Linked DNA regions of Homo sapiens: region 2 is linked to region 1. The links are contacts of gene promoters, found by promoter capture Hi-C in human tissues and cell types (Jung and others, 2019). All regions are on one chromosome and are shown on one strand. Each heading gives the region's core, a stretch centred on a gene start or on the middle of the fragment in contact. The rest is flanking DNA. Distances are from core to core; before and after follow the strand shown. Region 1 holds the start of PSMC1 (proteasome 26S subunit, ATPase 1). Region 2 overlaps TTC7B (tetratricopeptide repeat domain 7B).

The links. The method cuts DNA at HindIII sites, captures the fragments that hold promoters and counts their contacts. A contact is called where the count stands out against the background at its distance.
Region 2: a contact is called between a fragment that was not itself captured here and the fragment with the promoter of PSMC1 in region 1, in 2 of the 25 tissues and cell types used here (pancreas and small bowel).

What each region holds. Positions count from the first base shown.
Region 1 is chr14:90,252,277-90,257,865 of GRCh38, forward strand. PSMC1 (proteasome 26S subunit, ATPase 1) reads left to right here and starts at 4,277. Exons shown (of 11, transcript NM_002802.3): 1 at 4,277-4,324. The coding sequence starts at 4,322. RefSeq lists enhancers at 3,923-4,452, 4,328-4,567, 4,453-4,980. The HindIII fragment of the contact is 25,675 bases long and covers 1-5,589 here.
Region 2 is chr14:90,702,974-90,708,243 of GRCh38, forward strand. All of the region lies in intron 5 of TTC7B (tetratricopeptide repeat domain 7B), which reads right to left. Among named protein-coding and RNA genes, the nearest start is that of TTC7B-AS2, 8.3 kb to the left of the region's middle. The HindIII fragment of the contact is 4,066 bases long and covers 1-3,682 here.

The DNA.
Region 1 (5,589 bases), core at 3,027-5,526:
CAAGATTTTTCAGTTCTTTTTCAGGCTATTGGTTTAAACTCTGAGTGAAGGAGTAACAGGTCTTCATGGATAGTATTTGGTAGGTCGTGGGAAAGCCTTTTGGGTGCATTTCCCAGAAACTAAGAAACTGAATGACCCTAATGACTGGTGACTGAATTGTTTTGCACCTCCAATGTTTTCTAGTTCTTTGCAAACACATTGAAGACTTATTTCAAGTTATCATTAGTAATAGATTTTGTGGATCAATCACTGTGTGATTTTCTGTTTAGAACACAGGATTGGAAAGAATTGTGTGACATTTTCATTACAAAATTATTTCATTTCCCATTTATGTGAACGAGAATTCTCAGCCCAAACATCTATAAACAATAACTAATGAGACTAGAATTGGTGCTGAATCCTGCCTCATTCTGACATTGTCATATCCATCCATGGGTAGGTGAAATGAACACTAACTTAGCACAAACTGTATATCATCTTGATCAAGTGCGTACTAGTGGTAATTGATAATAATTCAAAATCCAGAAAACATTTTTAGCATGTAGGACCCAAAAGACACAGAAAATAGAATACATTAAAAATTTTTGACTTACATAAAACTTTTGCAAAAATGTGCGAGAGGTCAATCAATAAAATGTTTTCCAGCCTCAACATACATGATATTAGGATAAAAGTATGCATGATAAATGGAATGGAAATATTCGCTTCAAAGGGAAAAGAGATGAAAGCAAATATTTTCAATGCTAGAAAAGAGCCTGCGTACATAAGTTTGAAATGGATGAGATATCAAGCTATCATGATAGTTAGATTCCTTTGTGTATATACATTAAAATGTCAATACTTAAAACTTCCTGGCAAGTGGATCATTTGCAGCTATTTAAACTTATATGAAATTTAGATGCTAACCTAGAAATGTATCAAGAAATACATTTTGCAAATTACTTTCGAGAATGCATGAAGAAATGTGTTTGAAGATCACTGTACCACTCTACGAAGAGATTGTAAATTTTGAATGGGATACGGGACCATCTAATATATGCACAGAATGAGTGTGCCAATGGCAATTTGTATATTAACAAGAAATACTAATAAGGCCAGGCGCGGTGGCTCACACCTGTCATCCCAGCACTTTGGGAGGCCAAGGTGGGTGGATCACTTGAGGTCAGGAGTTGGAGACCAGCCTGGCCAGCATGGTGAAACCGCGTCTCTGCTAAAAATACAAAAATTAGCTGGGCATGGGGACGGGTGCCTGTAATCCCAGCTACTTGGGAGGCTGAGGCAGGAGAATCGCTTGAACCTGGGGGGTGGAGGTTACAATGAGCCAAGATTCTGTCACTGCACTCCAGTCTGGGTAACAGCATGAGACCTTGTCTCAAAATAATAATAATAATCAGAGTAGCTGATACCTAGAGTAATTGTCCTATGCCAAGTGCAATTCTCAGCATTTTACTTTAGTCCTCAAACAATGGCACCATGAAGGAGGAACTATAAAGGTCCCTATTTCACAGACGACAGAACTGAGACACAACAACACAGCTCACTGGTGACAAGGCTGGAAACGAGACCTGGCGTTAACCCCTTGGCTGTTTGATTAGTAATTATTCTTATTTTTTAAATAAAAAGTCATTCTGATGGCTTCTTCCAACACACGAATGGGCCCCTGGGCCACCAGGGTGTGGCTGCCCTGCTTTGCAGACCAGTGTTCTGGAGTTCCGGCTCTAAAAATGTGGTGTATGAGTCACCCAGCCTCAGAATCCCTTGGGGTATCTGTTAAAATGCAGGTGTCTGGGCCCTGCCATGGGCCTATAGAATCACAGTCTCTGGCGGATGGCACCAGAGTCTGCATTTTGTCAGCATCTGGGCTGGTTCTGATGTGCTTGAGGTTGCAGGGGGGCTGCTGAACAGGATGCACGCTCGCCTCTGGCACCTGCCCTCTGTCCACCCCGGCCCCGCCCCCTCTGTCCACCCTAGCATGAGCCCTCCGTCCACGTTTGGACACCTTCCTACCTCAGCCTCCATTCCATCTACTTTTGGCAAAAATCTCTTAAGAATCAAAAAACAAGAGTTTTATCCTCTCCGTATCCTCAGCCGGCAAGGTAGATAATTATCCCGTTATACAGATGAGAAAATGAGGATGACTTGCTGATGTCACACAGCTAGAGCAGAGCCTCCGGAGAGGAAACCTGTTGGTATCTTGATTTTAGCCCTGTGAGACCCAAGTTGAACTTCTAACCCAGAGACCTTCTAGCTTTGAGCACTACATTTATGGTCACTTTCTTTTTTTTTCTTTTTGAGATGGATTTTCCTTCTTTTCGCCCCGGCTGGAGTGCAATGGCGCAATCTCGGCTAACTGCAACCTCCGCCTCCCAGGTTCAAGCGATTGTCCCGTTTCAGCCTCCCGAGTACCTGAGATTACAGGCATCTGCCACCACTCCCAGCTAATTTTTGTATTTTCAGTAGACATGAGGTTTCACCATATTGGTCAGGTTGGTCTTGAACTCCTGAACTCAGGTGATCCACCCGCCTCGGCCTCCCAAAGTGCTGGGATTACAGGCGTGAGCCACGGCGCCCAGCCCCTGTGCATCTCTTTTGCCCTATGGCTGACTCTCAATCCTCCCCACCCGGTTGACAGTCATCTCTGCAACTCTCCCTCTTTTCCACTTGCAACTTCCAACCTCCCCAAGTGCTGAGCACTCCAAGTAGTCTTTCTAATCCTCTCCCTGCTTTCTCTTAGCTGTCCATTATGTAGATAAACTTAAATTTTCTGCTTACTTTATGTCACTTCCTACAGCCACAATAGGAAAGTCTGATGCCAACGTTGGCTACTCTCTTCATTACTGGGTTCTATTGACTCGCCTTTAACCGCTGAGCTTCCACTGGGAGTTATGTGCCTGTTTCTGACTTCTTCACTATATGGTGTCTCTAATCTCCATCCTCTGCAGCTTCTACTGCAGGGCCTCTGCCCTGGCTGTTCCCTCTACCTAGAAAGCTCTTCCACCAGATATCTGAATAGCTTACTCCTTCATGCCTTACGGGCTTTTGCTCAAGTATCATCCAATTTAAAGTTAAAATCACCCACCACTGCTGCATGCTCCTAATCCTAGGCATTTTTCCTAGGCATTAATTTTTCCTATGGCATTTACCACTATGTGGCATACTATATATTTTACTATTTACTTGTTTCTTGTAAAATGCATTAGGGAAAGGATATTTATTTTGTTTTTTAAATTTTTATTAATTTTTTTTTTTGAGACAGAGTCTCGCTCTGTCACCTAGACTGGAGTGCAGGGGCGTGATCTCACTGCAACCGTCGCCTCCCAGGTTCGAGAGATTCTCATGACTCGACCTCCCAAGCAGCTGGGATTACAGATGCCCACGATGATGCCCGACTAATTTTTGTATTTTTAGTAGAGATGGGAGTTTCACCATCTCTATCCTATGTGTGATACTGTCCTATCGTGTGATTTCATGTGTCATGTACACTAGATGCCAGATTTGTTAACAGAGGTCGATAGTGCTAAGACTTTCTATTACCGTGTTGCAGTGATGATGAAAAGGAAGAAGTATACCTGTTGTGTGTTCATAAGGGAAATATTTTTAGTGTTTCACAACTAAAATCCCTAAATCAATCTGGAGCAGAAAAAAAATCATCCATTTCTCCAGTTCAGAAAGATGCAGTATTTTGAGCACTTGTTAATGAAATTTCCAGAAACAGAAGGGATTGTTGCCATTTTTCTGATGTCCTGGAGGGTGTAACAAATGAGGAACTTTACCAATCAGCTTCAAGATGAGGAATTTAAGACATTTGGCATCATCACAAGTCACAGGTCATCAGAAAAAGACAGGTTTAGAAGACTCGTTACACACATACTCCCAGATGTGCAGGTTAAATTCCAGAAGCTGAATAATAACTGAAATATTTGTGCAAATGTATATGTCAACTTCCCAGTTCCAAATACCATTCCAGTTTTTAGAACCATAAAGTTCTTCCCAGTTATAAATTTTGCATAATTTAAATATTTTATATTTTCACGATTGTCCTAATTCTTTGACAGTAGGGGTCATTGTCTTAAGTTGTTGACAAGCGCCTCATAACGGGTATTCAAAAATTTCTTTCAAGTAAAATATTTATAAAGTTCACTTTATGCTTATAAACTGCTGCGTTGCCCTAGACCGCCCGCACAAGCCCTTGGAGCACAACTTGGTCAGCGCAGAATTTGGTTCCTATCAGCTTCCGTAGCGTCCCTAACGACTTCCGCCTCTGGCGGGCCGCAGTGGTGGAGGAACTTCCGGCAGCGGCAGCTCAAGTGGCCAAGGCAAGATGGTGAGTGACTAAGGGTTTCTTTCCGCTGGTCGTCGCGGTGCGATGGGGTCTCAGCAGCCTGAGGCGAGAGAAAGAGGCGGCTGCCCGAGGAACTGGGACAGCCCTCTTCTCCTTTTGCCGGCCTGATCTTCTCGGCGGGTGGAGGCTCCCAGAGACCGCGCTCATGTCCACCGCGGGCCGGGGCCGACCAACGGGCCTTGCCCGGGGATCCTGGGGCCGGGGCTCAGAGCAGAGAGAGGGTCTCCTGCGTGGTCTTGTGGGGCGGCAGAACGGATCAGGCCGCTGGCTTTGCTGCTCCGCCGACCAGGGCTTTGCTGATCGGCGCTGGGAGTTTCGGGGGCGCCTCCTCGAGTCACCGGGAAAAATGCTTTTTGAGTCGGGCAGGTGAAGGGTGCTGGAGAAGAGGGTGGGATTCATTCCACCTGAGGAGTTGAGCGCGGAGTCGTGGAAGGCCTTTCGGAGCTGGGGGCATTTGAAGGAGGCCTTAAAGACGTTGTTATGACAGGCGGAGCTAAGACGGAAAGGGCCCGTGGTGCAGTAGTAATAATAAAAACAGCTAGCATTTATTCATCAATTCACTAAACAAGTATTTACTGAGCACTTGGTGTTTTGTTGTTGTTGTTAAACTTTTGGCTAGCTTCTGTTGTAGACACTGAGGATTGATTGAAGTCCCTGCCTTCATAGTGCGTACATTCTAGAGCAGAAGGCAGACAATCATCAGAAATATGTAATATGATGTCAGGGGTGGGGTGGTCATTGTTGTATGGTTATTGTATAGAAAGGGATAGCTTGGAGGAGTGGCTGCTTTTTATAGAGTCAGCGAAGGTAGCTCTGAGGAGGTGAAATTTGAGCGGACCGAAATTGAGGGAGTAACCCCTGCAGATGTCTGAGGGAAATGTGGTCAAGGCAGAAGATACAGCAAGTGCAAAGGACCTGAGATGGGAATGTTTAACCTGTATCATGAACGGCAAGAAGGCCAGATCTCATAGAGGTCTTTTTTATTTTAATTTTAATTTTTATTTTTTTGAGACGGAGTCTTGGTCTGTCGTCCAGGCTGGAGTGCAGTGGCGCGATCTCCGCCTCCCGGGTTCAAGCGATTCTCCTGCCTTAGCCTTCCAAGTAGCTGCGACTATAGGCGCCCGCCACTACGCCCGGCTAATTTTTGTATTTTTGTAGAGACGGCGTTTCACTCTGTTGGCCAGGCTGGTCCTGAACTCCTGACCTTATGATCCGCCCGCCTCGGCCTCCCAAAGTGTTGGGATTAC
Region 2 (5,270 bases), core at 400-2,899, 450 kb after region 1:
GAGTTCATCAAGAAGGGCCAGATCACACTAAAAAATTTGAACTCAAAAGTGAACCACTAAAGCTTTATGAGCCCATAACACAAAGCTGGAGAGGAAAGCTCGCCACTTCCACTGGGGAAGTGTCTGCTCCAGACCTGGCCAGAGCTGGAAGACAAGCATGAGGGCGGGGTCCCCGTCAGCCTGCTTCATAAGACGGGGCTCAATTAGCTGCACAGAACACTGATGGGCACAGGCCAACAATATTCGTTTTTAATAGTCCAGAAAAGTGCAGAAAAAAGACAATCTGGAAGGTAAAAATGTCCTGCTAACAAAATGACTTCATTCATCAATTCTGAGTGGCAAAGTCACATAGGAAAAGAACTTCTGGCCACCCTGTCCATCCCCTCGACTGGGCTATGGAGAGGAAAAAAAGGCAGAAAGGATGTCAAGGGGAGGAAAGTCCCTCCAAACGCACCACAAGCACTTGAGCTGGAAGTTCGAGTGTGAGGATAAGAGTGCAACGTTCACTTCCATTCAATTGACAGGAGAACTGCATTTCCAACACAACTCTGGCGACCACATTTCAAAGCTAGAACAGTGAGAAAAAAATCCAAGGGGATCATTTGAAAGAAAGGGAAAAAAAAAGACCATTACATGTGCAGGGGTCAGCAGTCCAAATGGCTGCAGAAGCCAAGCAGGTAGCAGAGGTGGGTGAAGACAGACTGTGGGACGACAGGCGTCGCAAGCCTACAGGCCTCCAGTTCAAAACCATAACATAGAAACTCAACAGGGAAGGGAGGCTCTTTGCCATTAAATTGGTAAATAAAAGCCTCTGATATTTTTCTTGGGGAAACAAAGCAGTGCTGCTCAGTTTGAGGCAGCACAGTGCCGATGGGATTGTCACACATTCTCAGGAGTGGGACCAGATAACCCGCTTGGGCCTGGGAAAGGCAAATCTGCTGGGGAGAGAAGACAAAAAGGGCAAAGGTTGAGGAGGCTCATGAGAAGAAGGACTGGAAGTGAGCATGGAATGTGAGCCATCTGGGAACATGGCAAGGGGAACAAGTACCAGATGCCAGGCATGCACTGAGATGGGGAAGGACTGGCCAACGGGCTTCACCTTGTCTCTTCCTCATCTGCAAAATAGGACTAACACCTACTTGCCATATGCAATGAGATGGCACCTGGAAAGCTTCTGACTCCATGCTCAAAAACACGTGAATCCTCCGCCTTTCCCCAACCAGCTGCTACGTCCCACCATCCGGCCCTTCATTCCACATACAAACATTTACTGGCTAAAAGCCAAAAGCAGCCACTGGTGTGATTGTGAACCTTTGGTTTAATAGAAAACAGTGCAGAATCTGAACCGGTTTCTACGATGTACTACACCAAACTCTTCTTCTCAATTGTAGCTTTATACATGAGGAAACACAGGCTTAGAAATAACAGGGAACATGCCCATGATCACACAGCCCACAGCAGAAGAGCTGGGATTTGAACTCAGGCCCTATCTGATGCCAGTGCTAAGGGAAGGTGAAGATGATCCCTGTCGTGCAGAAGCCTGCAGTCAAACTGGAAAATGTGACTACCTCCTATGACGCAAAACAAAGGCATCCCAGGGACAGGAGAGCAGCCTGGGAAGGCTCCCAGCGGCACAGGCCAGCTGAAGTCTCTGAACCTAGACACATCTGGCTGCAAAGAACGGGATGGGATCCCACTGGGAGTGGGTGACAAAGGGGTAGCAGAGAATTTATGCTGAGGCGTCTGAGCTTCACAGCAGAAACAGGACTCAGAAGAAAGATGGTGTCGGGGAAAAAGACTAACATTGATAAGATGGCGACAACACAGAAGACGCTCTGACCAGAAGTCAACCCTCTGAAGTCAGTTCTTTCATCGCACAGCACCTCATTTATTTGGCTTTCCCAGTCAGAGTTCACACTCACTCACTCCGACGCGAAGCTCAGGTTTACCTTGGCTCTATCTACAGAAAAGAAAAAGCTTTGCTAAGCACATCAGCAGAGCAAACATGATCTGTGAGGAGAATATTTAATTTGCTCAGGGGAATAAGCTATTTCAAGCCCCTCTAAGCCATCCAGAGGAGCTGCCATTTACTAACAAACCACTGACATGGTAATTAAAATTATTTCACTCTCTCATCAAGAAAGTCCCCACAAGAGACTGGGCTTCTTCAGGACAGAGACTGGGTCCCTCCCACTAGGATGGAGTATGATCCAGCTGCACACCTACTCATGTAGCTGTTGTGAGGATGAAAGGTCACAGTCACTGCCCAGGAAAGGTCAGCCATCATCTTCTTCTGAGATACCACTAACTGGTTCCATGCCATTCCCCAACTCATTATTCCAGATGATCTGCCAGCCAACCTAGTGACACAGGCAGGAATTCGTTACTCGCAACTGATAAGGAGGGAAACTGAGTCCCAGAGAGAGAAGAAGGGAGTCTGGCCCAACAGCTCTAGGAGGGGCTGAGCCAGGACCTGATTCCCACCCGGCCTCTGGGTTCCCAGGGCAGGGATTCCCTCCCCTGCCCTCTGCTGGGTACTGTTCTAGCCCATATTTCATTGACCCCCTCAATTCTTTCTTAATATTTTATTCGATAAAATATAGATACCGAAAGCCATATAAAACAATTGTATGGCGTAAGGGACTATTAGAAGGCACACACCATGTAACCACCACCAAAAAAAATAAAGACACCGCCATTCACCACATGCCAATGAACAGCCCCCTCCAACTAAAAGTAACAACTACCCTGACTTTTCTGGTTAATTGCTTTGTTCCTCACGTAGGCATCCCTACCCTATAGCCTTGTCCACTTTTTTTCACTTGACGATTCTTCAAAATCGCTCCTACTTTACACCTTCCCCACTACCTCTTTTTCTTACAACTTATCTGCTAGAGAAAACCTGAACTGTTCAGCCTATAGAGTTTCCCACTGGCTAGAAAACTGCACATTCATGCTACAGTTCAATACATGCCTCTGTTCTCTGTATTTCCTGCAATTTGGCAGCTAGATCCGCAGGCTTGATCAATTCAGGGTCGATCCCTTTGGCAAGACTTCAGCAGTGTTGTGCTCTTGTTCTGACATTAGCAGCCCTTGGTATTCAACACTTTCAGCATCAATCTCCCGGGAGTTACTAAGTGGTGACATTCTAATTCTCCCACTGCATTTTCATTTATTAGCTGGAATAATTTTTTTTTTTTTTTTTTTTGAGATGGAGTCTCGCTCTGTTGCCCAGGCTGGGTGCAGTGGCGCAATCTCGGCTCACTGCAAGCTCCACCTCCCGGGTTCACACCATTCTCCTGCCTCAGCCTCCTGAGTAGCTGGGACTACAGGCACCTGCCACCACACCTGGCTAATTTTTTTGTATTTTTAGTAGAGATGGGGTTTCACTGTGTTAACCAGGATGGTCTCGATCTCCTGACCTCATGATCCACCCGCCTCAGCCTCCCAAAGTGCTGGGATTACAGGGGTGAGCCACCACACCCAGCCCTGGAATAATTTTTATAAGATGTTTCATCTAATATTTGGCTTTCCAGTGGCTTAGTACACATAGTAAAATGTTTTATGTTTTCCATTTATTTGCTTAGTTTTCAAAATACTGAATTAGAACTCATGAACTTAAGCTCATTTGATTAGTCTATTGCAATTTTTACCCTTCTTGAAATTCAAACTATCCTATATTTGACCCGAGTCCTTTTAAAATGACCTAGGAATCTTTGATAGCTTCTTCGCTATACGGATGTAGGTAAAGGTGTTCCAGGCTCATCTTATACATTTCCTGCCCCAGAACTGGCATGAGGTTTCTTTTATTGAAAGCTGATACTTCAAGATCAAATCTAGGAGCTAGGGATGTTCACTGCTAATGGTTCGGTCACCTTAGCGAGAACTCTCTCTCTCACATATAAACACATACACACATACATGTACATATGTGTGTATATGCACATGCATATACATACACACACATACATAGACACAAATACCTCAGATTTCATACTGATATTTCCAATTTGATTATTCAAATTCAGGACTACAGTTTTTCCTAGACTACTTCTATCTTAAATCTGCTTTTTCCTTTCTTCCATAGCAAGAATATTCATTCTCAAGGACACAGGGGATGATGGAATTAGAACATTCCATAACTACTCAGTTGCTTTATTCCGTGTTATATGAGAAGTTTCAGAATAATACTAATAATACCACCATCAATTATTTTCATCATCTGTTATCAGTGATCTTTGATAATACCATAATTGTTTGGGGGTGCCACAAACCATGCCCACCTAAGATGGCAAACTTGATCAATAAATGTTGTATATGTGCCCCACTGACCAGCCATTTCCCCATCTCTCTCCCTTTCCTTGGTCTTCCCTATTCCCTGAGACATAATATTGAAATGAGGCCAATTAACAACCCTACAATGGCCTTTAAAGTTCAAGTGAAAGGAAGAATTGCACATCTCTTACTTTAAATCAAAAGCTGGAAATAATTAAGATTAGTGAGGAAGGTCTGCCAAAAGCCAAGATGGGCTGAAAGTGGGGCCTTTTGTACCAAACACTTAGTCAAGTTGAAAATGCAAAGGAAGACTGCTTGAAGAAAATTAAAAGTGCCTACTCCAGTCAACACACAAATGATAAAAATAATTTTTTAAAAAAAGCAAAAGAGCCTTATTGCTGATAGGGAAAAAGTCTGCATGGTCTGGATAGAAGATTAAAGCAGCCTCAACATTCCCTTAAACCAAAGCCTAATCTAGAGCAAGGCCCTAATTCTCTTCAATTCTTTGAAGGCTGAGAGAGGTGAAGAAGATGCAGAGGAAAAGTTTGAACCTGGCAGAGGCTGGTTTATGAGGTTGAAGGAAAGAAGCTGTTTCTATGATATAAAAGTGCAAGGTGGAAAGGTGTGGTGGCTCACGCCTGTAATCCCAGCACTTTGGGAGGCCGAGGCGGGCGGATCACGAGGTTAGGAGCTCGAGACCAGCCTGGCCAACATAGTGAAACCCCACATCTACTAAAAATACAAAAAATTAGCCAGGCGTGGTGATGGGTGCCTGTAATCCCAGCTACTCCAGAGGCTGAGGCAGGAGAACAGCTAGAACCCAGGAGGTGGAGGTTGCAGTGAGCCAAGGTCACACCACTGCACTCCAGCCCAGGCGACAGTGCGAGACTCCATCTCAAAAAAAAAAAAAAAAAAAAAAAAAGTGCAAGGTGAAGCAGCAAGTGTTGATATAGAAGCTACAGAAAGTTATCCAGAAGTTCTAGCTGAGGTCATTA